4 separate regions of the Homo sapiens genome follow, and regions 1, 2 and 4 are each linked to region 3. The links are contacts of gene promoters, found by promoter capture Hi-C in blood cells and fetal thymus (Javierre and others, 2016). All regions are on one chromosome and are shown on one strand. Each heading gives the region's core, a stretch centred on a gene start or on the middle of the fragment in contact. The rest is flanking DNA. Distances are from core to core; before and after follow the strand shown. Region 1 has its middle 33 kb from the start of GTF2H5. Region 2 has its middle 58 kb from the start of GTF2H5. Region 3 holds the start of RSPH3 (radial spoke head 3). Region 4 has its middle 6.9 kb from the start of SOD2.

Region 1 (2,700 bases), core at 116-2,615, 800 kb before region 3:
CGCTTGAGCACGAGGTCAAGGCTGTAGTGAGCCGTGATTGCACCACTGCACTTCAGCCTGGGCAACAAAGTGAGACCCTGTGTCAAAAAACATTTTTTTTTTAGACGGAGTCTTGCTGTCTCCCAGGCTGGAGTGCAGTGGCACGATCTTGGCTCACTGCAAGCTCCGCCTCCCGGGTTCACGCCATTCTCCTGCCTCAGCCTCCCAAGTAGCTGGGACTACAGGCACCCACCACCACACCCGGCTAGTTTTTTGTATTTTTAGTAGAGACGGGGTTTCACCGTGTTAGCCAGGATGGTCTCGATCTCCTTACCTCATGATCCACCCGCCTTGGCCTCCCAAAGTGCTGGGATTACAGGCGTGAGGCACCACGCCCAGCCTCAAAAAAAATTTTAAAAGCTAATGACAATCTTCACTTTTTTAAAGAATATAAAAAGAGTTTTGGCTGGGCGTGGTGGCTCACGCCTGTAATCCCAGCACTTTGGGAGGCCAAGGCAGGCAGATCACGAGGTCAGGAGATCGAGACCATCTTGGCTGACACGGCGAAACCCCGTCTCTACTAAAAATACAAAAAACTAGCCGGGCGTGGTGGCGGGCACCTGTAGTCTCAGCTACTTGGGAGGCTGAGATAGGAGAATGGCATGAACCCGGGAGGCAGAGCTTGCAGTATGCAGAGATCACGCCACTGCACTCCAACCCGGGCAACAGAGCAAGACTGTCTCAAAAAAAAAAAAAAAAAAAAAGAGTTCTACTCCCTATCCCAATGAGATCACACTGCTTTGACACTTGCCTTTTCCCTTAATTTTTCATGCTCCTTTATGAAAAACCTGAAGCAGGATTTCTATTTCAGAGGAAAGTTTTTTTTTCTGATTTTAGATGGGGAGCTTTCTAAAAATGTTGATGCCTGGCCTCAGCCCCCAGTCATTCAAATTTAGTTGTTCTGGGATATGACCCAAGCGTCAGCATCTTTAAAAGGCCTGCCTGGTGCTTCTGCTGTGCATTCAGAGCTGAGAACTCCTGGGCCGGTGTGTGCACAATGGAGACTCTGGGTAGGAGGTTTTGTTTTTGGGTTTCGTTCGGTTTCCAGTAGGCTAATCTACCAGCACAGCTGTTTCCTTTTACTGCCAAGGAAATGCTGAGTCTGCCCAGCAAGGAACCAGCTTTTGTTAAAATTCACTAATTAGATAACTGATTCCCCAAGTCGTTGCAGGATCTTATTTATTGACAGTAGCTAGCTTGAGTTGGATCCTTTGGTTAGACGGAGGAAAGTCATTGCAGCACTCATAATTGGTTAAGTTTTTTTTTTTTAAACATAAATTCACTAAGATATTTTAGTCTTGTGTTTATTTACTGTTTACCATGCTTTTGTGTGTGTGTGTGTGTGTGTGTGTGTGTGTGTGTGTGTGTGTGTGAAACAAACTCTTAAGCTATGTCAGCATATCCTTTCTCAGGCAGAGTCTTTCGGAGGTAGATGTCTAATTCAGTATTAACTGGTTTACCTAGCTCTCATCACTCCTCCGGCTCCCTCAAGCCCTCAGTAACATCTGCACTTACATAAGGTATTTGGATGTGTGACTTATATTTTATTAAATTAAGGACAGAAGTTGAGTTTGACACACAAAAACAGGGAGAGCAGAGGCAGGTCCGTGAGAGATAAACAAACACAACTAATTTAGTGACATGAAGAATTCACAGAAATCTTGGAAGGTTTTGAACTTCTGTGGACATGGAATGGAAGGGTTAGTCTTATGTCAGTTTTATCAAACACATTAAATCTGCCGGGCGCGGTGGCTCATGCCTATAATCCCAGCACTTCGGGGGGCCAAGGCGGGTGGATCACGAGGTCAGGGGTTCGAGACCAGCCTGACCAACATGGTGAAACCCCGTCTCTACTAAAAATACAAAAAAATTAGCTGGGCGTGGTAGCGGGCACCTGTAATCCCAGCTACTCAGGAGGCTGAGGCAGGAGAATTGCTTGAACCCGGGAGGCGGAGGTTGCAGTGAGCCGAGATCGTGCCACTGCACTCCAGCCTGGGCAACAGAGAAAAAAACAAACAAAAAAAAACACATTAAATCAGGTGCTATTTGCAGCTGTAATTTGTAACTATTGCACTTTGGATATGGTAGTAGAAGCTACCATGTCTAAAAGTAAATGTTCTATGAGTGTTTAAACCTCTAACTATGACTATACTGGGCAATTGGTCCAAAAGCCACTCTGAAAATTTTCCAGCATAAAGTTGTTATGGTCTTGACTGAGGCAGATATGCCTTTGAGGGCTTCTTAGTCTATATCAGTGCTTTTCAACTTTAAAGTACTTACAAATCATCTGGAAGTCCTTAGAATGCAGATTCCGATTAAGTGGGTGTGGGCTGGGGCCTGAGATTCTGCATTTCTAGAAGGCTTCCAGGGGATGGCAGTGCTGCTGTCTGGCAGGTCACATTTTGAGTAGCTAAGCTCAAACACCCAAAGTGATGGTGTCATAGAGAAATAGAAGTTAAAGAAAAATGTTTAGGCCGGACGCAGTGGCTCAACCCTGTAATCCCAGCATTTTGGGAGGCCAAGGCAGGGGATCACCCGAGCTCAGGAGCTCAAGACCAGCCTGGGCAACATGGCGAAACCCCATCTCTACTAAAAATACAAAAAATTAGCCAGGCGTTGTGGTGCATGCTTGTAATCCCAGTTACTCAGGAGGCTGAGACA
Region 2 (2,700 bases), core at 142-2,641, 770 kb before region 3:
AAAATTGTTCCCCAAAGAGTCATGGCTACCTGCCTTAACAGCTGCTTACCTAAGACCAAGTCAGTGCCTTTTTATTGTTGTTGCTGTTTGTTTGTTTTGAGACGGAGTCTTGCTCTATCCCCAGGCTGGAGTGCAGTAGCACTATCTTAGCTCACTGCAACCTCCGCCTCCCGGGTTGAAGTGATTCTCCTGCCTCAGCCTCCTGAGTAGCTGGGATTACAGGCGTGCGTCACCACACCCAGCTAATTTTTATATTTTTAGTAAAGACGAGGTTTCACTATGTTGGCCAGTCTGGTCTCAAACTCCTGACCTCAGGTGATCCACCAACCTTGGTCTCCCAAAGTGCTGGGATTACAGATGTGAGCCACTGCTTCTGGCCCCAAGTCAATGCCTTTTGAACTGTCCACCATCCTGCTTAAAGAAAGTGTGGGCGAGGTGCAGCAGCTCCCACCTGTAATTCCAATACTCTGGGAGGCCGAGGTGGGTGGATTGCTTGAGCCCAGGAGTTTGAGACCAACCTGGGCAACATAGTGAGACCCCCCCCTTTTTTTTTTTTTTTTTGAGACAGAGTCTTGCTCTGTCGCCCAGGCTGGAGTGCAGTGGCGCAATCTCGGCTCACTGCAAGCTCCGCCTCCTAGGTTCACGCCATTCTCCTGTCTCAGCCTCCCGTGTAGCTGGGACCACAGGCACCTGCCACCATGCCCAGCTAATTTTTTTGTATTTTTAGTAGAGACGGGGTTTCACTACTGTTAGCCAGGATGGTGAGACCCCCATCTTTACAAAAAATAAAAAAATTAGCCAGGTGTGGTGGCATGCACCTGTGGTCCCACTACTCAGGAGGCTGCAGCAGGAGGATCATCTGAGCCTGGAGAGGTTGAGGCTGCAGCGAGCTGTAATCACGACACTGCACTCCAGCCAGGACAATAGAGCAAGACCTTGTCTCAAAAAAAAAAAAAAAAAAGAAAATGTGTACCCAACGATGTGCATCTACTGAGAGTCTGCTCAGAATTCAGGGCCCTAAAGGACCACCTCAGCAATGAAAGGATCGGGAGGAAGGAGAGTGGCGCTTCAAGTGTGTACAAAGTACCGCAGCCCGCTCACCTCTTCCCTTCTCCCGAATGGGGGAAGCAGACAAGGACAAAAGCTCTCTTTTCTTGTAAGCCATCTTCTCCTTTCCAGAGTGAACCAAGCAGGCCTTTTGGTTCTAGATCTTGGTCCAGGTATTACTTTGCTCTGGGAGGCTCTGAGCAGGCTGGGAAGGGGACGAGTTAGCTGATTAGAGCCTCGAGCCTTTAAGGCAGAGGGTGAGTAGGACCCCGGGTTGCATTCTGTGTGTCCAGGCCAGGCCATCAGAGTCAAAAGATAGAAGTGGGTGGGCTAAGGCTACTTTGCAAGGCCACACACCTCCCTGGCGACTGCCCTAGCAGAGGCCCTTCCTTTTCTGATCCAAAGCCCCTTCATAGGTTCCCACACACTTGTTCTCATTTGGACACTGCCTGGTTTAAAGTAGAAGCTCAATAAATAATCAAAAGGGAACAACCGGGCCGGGCATGATGGCTCACACCTGTAATCCCAGCATTTTGGGGGTCCGAGGCGGGTGGATCACGAGGTCAAGAGATCCAGACCATCTGGCCAACATGGTGAAACCCCGTCTCTACTAAAAATACAAAAATTGGCTGGGCATGGTGGTATGCACCTGTAGTCCCAGCTACTTGGGAAGCTGAGGCAGGAGAATCACTAGAACCCGGGAGGCGGAGGTTGCAGTGAGCCGAGATCGCGCCACTGAACTCCAGCCTGGCGACAGAGCAAGACTCCGTCTCAAAAACAAAAAACAAAAAACAAAAAAAAAAGGAACAACCCTCCCATACAATTGCTCTCAATGGGACAAAGTTCACCAGCAGAGGCTTGTAAGTGTGTTTCTTCCCAGGTTAAACATTCTTATTTTCTTCTTCAGGTGTTTATAAAACTGTATGACATTGTAAGACAGCTTCTGGAGTCCTCACCATCCTGGCCACCCTCAAAGGATGTGCTGCAACTCATCACTGTTTCTTCACGTGTGGCTGTGGTGGCCTCCAGAACTGCAGGACAGTCTGCAGGTGGCATGGCTGAGCGGAGCACAGCGGGGCTACAGCGTTTCACCTGGTGCCGGACGCTGGGTTTCCAGTGATGAAGCCTCAGCTGGTGCTGGCATTTTTGGCTCTCAGGACACCTCGAAAGGGGAGGGGCTTGCATCTTATTCTTCAAAAGCTCTGACTCCTCCGCCATCTCCTTATGTCCAGGATCCAGTTTCCCTATCCCTGTGCTGAGTGTCTTGGTGGCTGAAGGGCTTGAGACAGCAGAAACTTTGGACTCTGAGTTATGTCGCAGCCAAGAAGGAGGGGAGTTGCCCAGCAGGCTGCTTGGTGACAGGGAGGCAGGGAAGAGGCCTGCAAGAAGAGCTGCTGGAGCTTCATTGTCTGGATGTCTTAGAGGAACATGATGGCCAAGGAGGGGTGCAAAGAAGTGTGGAGAGAAGGGAAGGGAACAGAGGCCAACCCAGGTGCCTGGCTGGCTGTGACTATGGATCCCTTGTGCCCCCAGGCCCAGCCTTAGGGTAGGACAGTGGTGATTAACCACCGCCAGGAGCACAGCCACGTTTTAATAAGTGGTCAAGATACACTGTTACCAGAATGCCTATCAGATTCAGTTGGGCTCTGAGCT
Region 3 (2,700 bases), core at 139-2,638:
GAGCGGAGATCGCGTCATTGCAGTCCAGCCTGGGCGACAAGAGCGAAACTCCGTCTCAAAACAACAACAGCAACCACCACCACCACCACCACCACCACCACAAAAAACCAATCTGTGGTCCTGCATGGAAGAATAATCTTACTCCTGCTCAAAGCCTGCCGAAGAGATTTACTCGGCTCCCATTTTGGATATGCTACTGTTGGATATCTTTGCACCGCGGTCTCCTCATCTGCATAATGGAGTTATAAAATCAACTTCACAGCACTGTGGATTAACTAAGAAAACGTATTTGAATGCCCCCCGTAAGGTGCTCAGCACGTAGTTGGCCCTCAATACACACTGGTACAATTCAAACTTTGTGAAATGAGCCAATTCGTGTACATGTTAAGGACCACGGCAGCAACTCATATCACTAAAAGTTAACTGATGCCCAACCCATGCCCCTTCCTGCTTCACTCCTCCACACCACGGGAGATTCCTTAGGGCAGAACTTTTATTTCGGCAGAGTGCAGCCAAGGGAAGACAGCATAAGCAGCTTTTTTGCCAGGGCGAAGGGGCCAGACCCCGGCCTGGGGATGGGGTGCAAGTATGGACCACACAGGGGCTGGCTTGGTCACTCACGGCTGCGTCAGGCTGTCCCGGTAACGGCTGCGCTGGCAGGGCAGTGCTCGGGGCCGGCTGGTGTAGGTGTAGGTGCTCGGGGCCCGAGAGGTGCGATCAGTCAGCGCTGAGGCCATGTCCGGGGGCTGACTGCCTCGCTTTCGGTGGAGCTTGGCTTTGAAGCAGGTGGGCGCTAAGGTGTTGTGGGACCCGGAGAGATGTAAGTAGTGCCAAGGGCAAGGATTCCGCGACGCGAGGAGAGGCGACAACAAGGGAGGCGGGCGGGACGGGAGGTTACCAGCGCAGGAGGTGGGAGCTATACTGGGCTCGCTCCCAGCACCACAGAGACCAGCTGCGGGGGCCGCATCGGTTGCCCAGCAACCCAGGGTTCTGTCTGGGGGCGGGAACTCCGGGCAGTTCCGGTCCCCAGGTTTCCCGGGAAGGACTGCGGCACAAGGGACTTCCGGCTCTTGACTCCGCCCAGCCGCGCCACCCAGGTAGGTGCGCCTGCGCTTTGCGAGGTTCCTGGCTAGGGAGGCGGCCTTGGCTGGCTTGACCGTCATCCTTGAGGCCTGCGGGGCAACGGTGGCTGTCCTTGGCCCGGCTTTGGAATGTGGCTTTGCAGGGCTGGTGTTGGCGCCATTCTCGCAGGCCCACGTGCTCCTGCTCTTCCAGGGTGTCCTCGGCTGTTTCTCCTGCCGCGGCGCAGCAGCGCTCCCAGGCTGCCCCCGCGATAACACGCCCCTGGCAGCCAGGCTCCCAGCTCTGTTACGTGCCCGGGCGGGGAAGAGCTTCCTGGTGTCTCCCGGCTCCTGCCCTTCTCCCGCCCCAGGGGCGGGCTGCCGCCGCCCTCTGCAGCTGAGTCAGTGCAGTTCCTCACCTACCTTCTCTGCTCACCGCTGTGTGCTAGCAATCGGAGGACCCTTGGCACACGGAGCGACAGGGGCCTCCCCCACAGACACCTCATTTTGGGAAAGAAGTGAGCAATTTATTGAGTCTTAAAAAATACAAAGGCATAGTTCCCCTTAATCTATCAGGCTTCCAGCTCTAAAGAATGTCTCTAGTATTGCGGGGTGGGGCTGCGCTTAAAAACGCAGACGCTTTGGTTTTAGTACCAGCAACGTTAAAAATCTTCTATCTTGTATGAGTGAATGTGTATCCCTTGTGATCAGTTATTTGCATTTGCAGTTACACCTTCATTCAGCTAATTGCTGTCTTGATTTGAATCCAGGTTCTAGAATGTACTAGCTCCGAAACCTCAGGCAAGTTAAATGTTTTTGTGCTTCATTTTCCTAATCCACAAAGTGGCAATAGAAGAATTTATCTCTTTAGGTTTTGTCTTGAGGATTAAAACCGTTAATACTTAGAGCTGTGCCTGGTAAATGGCAAGCCTTTATATTAAGATCTGGACCGTTCTGTGCTTTGAAGTGTATGACCTAAAGCAGATGTAGGCATTCTATAAGTAACACTAGCATAAAGGTGTATGGTAAATTCTAGAGGTGAAAACACTCCCAACATATTTTAGGTCTGATCATTTAATTTTGAGGTAATTTCTGAAAGGGCTAGAGGAGAAAGTGACATTTAAGTTGTGTTTGATAAATGATAGTATTTTAACTGGCCAGCCTCTTGGGGGAAGTGCATTCGGAATGGCTTGATCAAAGGCTCAAGAAGCCCAAGGTGCATTTGGAAAACTGTAAGCAAGGTTTGTGTAGATGAGTTGTAGAAATATATATAGACAGGCTGACACCACATCGTGGAAACAGTAAACACTAGCATATTAATTAGAATATTTTTTCCCTCAAGTAACAAAAAACCAATTCCAAGTGGCTGAAATAATAAGGAATTCATTATTTTACACTCCCCAGGTTGGTTAACCTGGAGGGTAACTTGGGGGCTCAGCACATTATCAACAACACGTTTTTTCCCCTACCTTTCCACTCTGTCACCTGGGTTGTTGGCTTCAACAAAGTAGTAATAGAAGTATCTGCTCTTTTGTCTTTATTGGAAGAGCAAAACCCCCTCGTAAACTCCCAACTGACCAGAATTACATCATATTGATTTAAGCTTAGGATCTATATAAGACCACCATATTTGGATTAG
Region 4 (2,700 bases), core at 1-2,500, 700 kb after region 3:
AAGAGAAATTATATTTACTATTCATTAAGCAGAAGTGGATCATCATAAAGGTCTTCATCCTCCTCATCTTTATGGTGAGTAGGCTGAGGAAGAGAGGTTGATCTTGCTGTCTGGGGGGTGGGGGGCGGGGGTGGAGGCAGAAGAAAATCTACATAGAAGTGGACCCATGCAGTTCAAACCCATGTTGTTCAAGGGTCAAGTGTATTGCTGTTAAACCTGTGTAGCTCCGTGCCTTTAAACAGCTGCCACTCCCTCTCCCACATTTTTCACACCCAAAAGAATTGGGCCCAGCCTTATCTAATTGGAGCCCAAGATTTGAAACTTTCTTCCTCCTTCTGTCCCTACACAACTTCCCAACTTATCCCTATCTCCTCAAATCCTGATTGGCCTGCTGTCCCATCTCTTACACGACTCTGGTCATCACTCTTGGACCTAAAGCTTGACATTGCTTCTATGCCCTGACCTTGGTCCATCTGCCCCTTAGATGGCATTTGCTTTGTAGCCTCAGTGAAGACCCAGCTTCCTGGAGTTTCCCTTCACAATGGCCCAGCTCATTCTTCCCAACCTAGTCTAGTGAAAGACTCAGACTTGCTGGGGACCCAGGAGGCCAAAAGAGAAGGGTTGTCCCATATTGAGAGTCCGGCAGAGCCCTCCATAAGATCCTTTCATGAGGACTTCCTGCAACATCCTGCCTCCTTTATGGAAATGGACACCACCTCTTCCCCATTACTACTCCACGAGAAAAAAAAAAACAAACATGGTCACTGCATTCTATGTAAGGGTGGGATCTGTCATTATTAAACTGCCAACTTCTAGTTCATATCCCAGGATTTGTCATGGAGTAAGATTGATTTCAGGTGCACAGTTCCAAGAATGACTCTCAAGGGCTACTCAAGCTACTAAAGAGTAGCCCAGACCACTGAGGGCTGTGAGCAAGCATAAGGATCTTGGCTGGCTGAATCTCTGGGCCAGCACAACCCAGGGGCTGCACTCCACACTGTACATCTACTCGGAGCAGCCAAAATAGGTACACAGGAGGAGTGGCCTCGCATACCACCCAGGTCCATGCCAGATTGTGGTCCACTGAGAACAGTATTGATATCACAGTATTTCTGGGAACCTATGTCCCATCTCAGGCAACTCCCAGGACTCAATCCATCTTGGCCTGCATCACCCTCCTCTCGTGCCAGCTTACATCTGCATTTACCCTCTGGTGAGAAATTAGATAAAATCGCATAAAATAAAACTTCATTTTCATGCTAAAGATATTTAGTTTGAGGAACTAGTCAGCTATATGTTGGTACACTAGAGGTGAGCCACTAAAAATGATCACTGTTCAGTTAGATGTGGACAAAACATATTTAAGAGTGGGACAATTATTAAACATTTAAGGGATCAGATTGGTTTCCAGGTGTCTTTAAATGCCACTCCACTTTAGAGAATTAATGGAAATTAGAGACAACACATTACTAGTGTGGTGATGCAGTAGCTCCAGTAATTTTCTGGTTCTTCATCTGAATTCATTTACATGGTTTAAGTTAAAATGCATTGTTGGCCAGGCGCGGTGGCTCACGCCTGTAATCCGAGCACTTTGGGAGGCCGAGGTGGGTGGATCACAAGGTCAGGCGATCGAGACCATCCTGGCTGACACAGCAAAACCCCATCTCCACTAAAAATACAAAAAATTAGCTGGGTGTGGTGGCAGGCGCCTGTAGTCCCAGCTACTCGGGAGGCTGAGGCAGGAGAATGGCATGAACCCAGGAGGCAGAGCTTGCAGTAAGCCAAGATTGCGTCACTGCACTCCAGTCTTGGTGACGTGCGAGACTCTGTCTCAAAAAAAAAAAAAAAAAATCAATGCATTGTTAACATGTGTGGCATGTTTTCCAACTCCCATTTTTTTGATGGCATGGATAAGACTTAGTCTCTAAGTACTAAATGAAGAACAAATATCTCTCTGAGTGCACTTTGAAAGTAATGCTTAAATGTCTGGTCTCTGGGACATAACATCTATCTTTGTTAAACTCTGACTTTTTACTGACCTGATTTTCATTTAGGTTCAGTCTAAGCTTTCCAAATCAAGCAGAGACCTAATTTTCTTAAGCTTCCCTGGAACACAATGTAGGATCTCGGCTTTTAGACTGAACTCTAGGAGACACAAATTCTCAGTGATGGGGTGGTCTCCAAAACCATGAGAAGGAGTCCACTTAAAGCAACTGTCAGGCAAGACAATATGTAAGATTTCCCTGTATTCCACCCACATGCCACCACTGTGAGCAATATAAATATAACCCCACACCTGCTTCCTCTCCAGGCCAATCCCTGGAGATTTGAGAAACCATGGTTAGCATGCTCAAAGATGAGCAGCAGCAGCAGAAGGCAAGACGCTAGAGAAGGCACCTGCCAGCTGCCAACATCTTTCTCCCTCTGTAGGCTGCTGGCCTGCTAGAGGCCTGTGATGAAGTTTTGACTTTAAATCACTTTCAGAGTTTTGCTTCTCACATGGGAGCATTTTGGATAGTGAATTGAGCCTGTGTTCTAACTTAAAGTGATTATAAGACTTTTTATTACTAAAGAACATATATTTTTTAAAAGGTCACGGGACCAAGCTGGGCGTGATAGCACATGCCTATAGTCCCAGCTACTTGGGAGGCTGAGGCCCGAGGATCACCTGAGCCCAGGAGTTCGAGGTTGCAGTGAGCC

Evidence for each region. The method cuts DNA at HindIII sites, captures the fragments that hold promoters and counts their contacts. A CHiCAGO score of 5 or more calls a contact.
Region 1: a contact is called between a fragment that was not itself captured here and the fragment with the promoter of RSPH3 in region 3, in 2 of 17 cell types (naive CD8 T cells and total B cells). The highest score is 8.4, in naive CD8 T cells.
Region 2: a contact is called between a fragment that was not itself captured here and the fragment with the promoter of RSPH3 in region 3, in 2 of 17 cell types (fetal thymus and naive CD8 T cells). The highest score is 5.9, in fetal thymus.
Region 4: a contact is called between a fragment that was not itself captured here and the fragment with the promoter of RSPH3 in region 3, in 1 of 17 cell types (M0 macrophages). The highest score is 5.1, in M0 macrophages.

What each region holds. Positions count from the first base shown.
Region 1 is chr6:158,200,000-158,202,699 of GRCh38, forward strand. No RefSeq gene overlaps it. Among named protein-coding and RNA genes, the nearest start is that of GTF2H5, 33 kb to the left of the region's middle. The HindIII fragment of the contact is 7,369 bases long and covers 1-2,700 here.
Region 2 is chr6:158,224,708-158,227,407 of GRCh38, forward strand. No RefSeq gene overlaps it. Among named protein-coding and RNA genes, the nearest start is that of GTF2H5, 58 kb to the left of the region's middle. The HindIII fragment of the contact is 2,829 bases long and covers 1-2,700 here.
Region 3 is chr6:158,998,814-159,001,513 of GRCh38, forward strand. RSPH3 (radial spoke head 3) reads right to left here and starts at 1,389. Exons shown (of 8, transcript NM_031924.8): 1 at 622-1,389. The coding sequence starts at 737. TAGAP-AS1 (TAGAP antisense RNA 1) reads left to right here and starts at 1,060. Exons shown (of 5, transcript NR_183546.1): 1 at 1,060-1,579. RefSeq lists enhancers at 132-1,103, 588-737, 758-807, 838-907, 1,078-1,237 and 2 more. The HindIII fragment of the contact is 7,152 bases long and covers 1-2,662 here.
Region 4 is chr6:159,698,820-159,701,519 of GRCh38, forward strand. It overlaps a transcript of SOD2 not described here. Among named protein-coding and RNA genes, the nearest start is that of SOD2, 6.9 kb to the left of the region's middle. The HindIII fragment of the contact is 1,628 bases long and covers 437-2,064 here.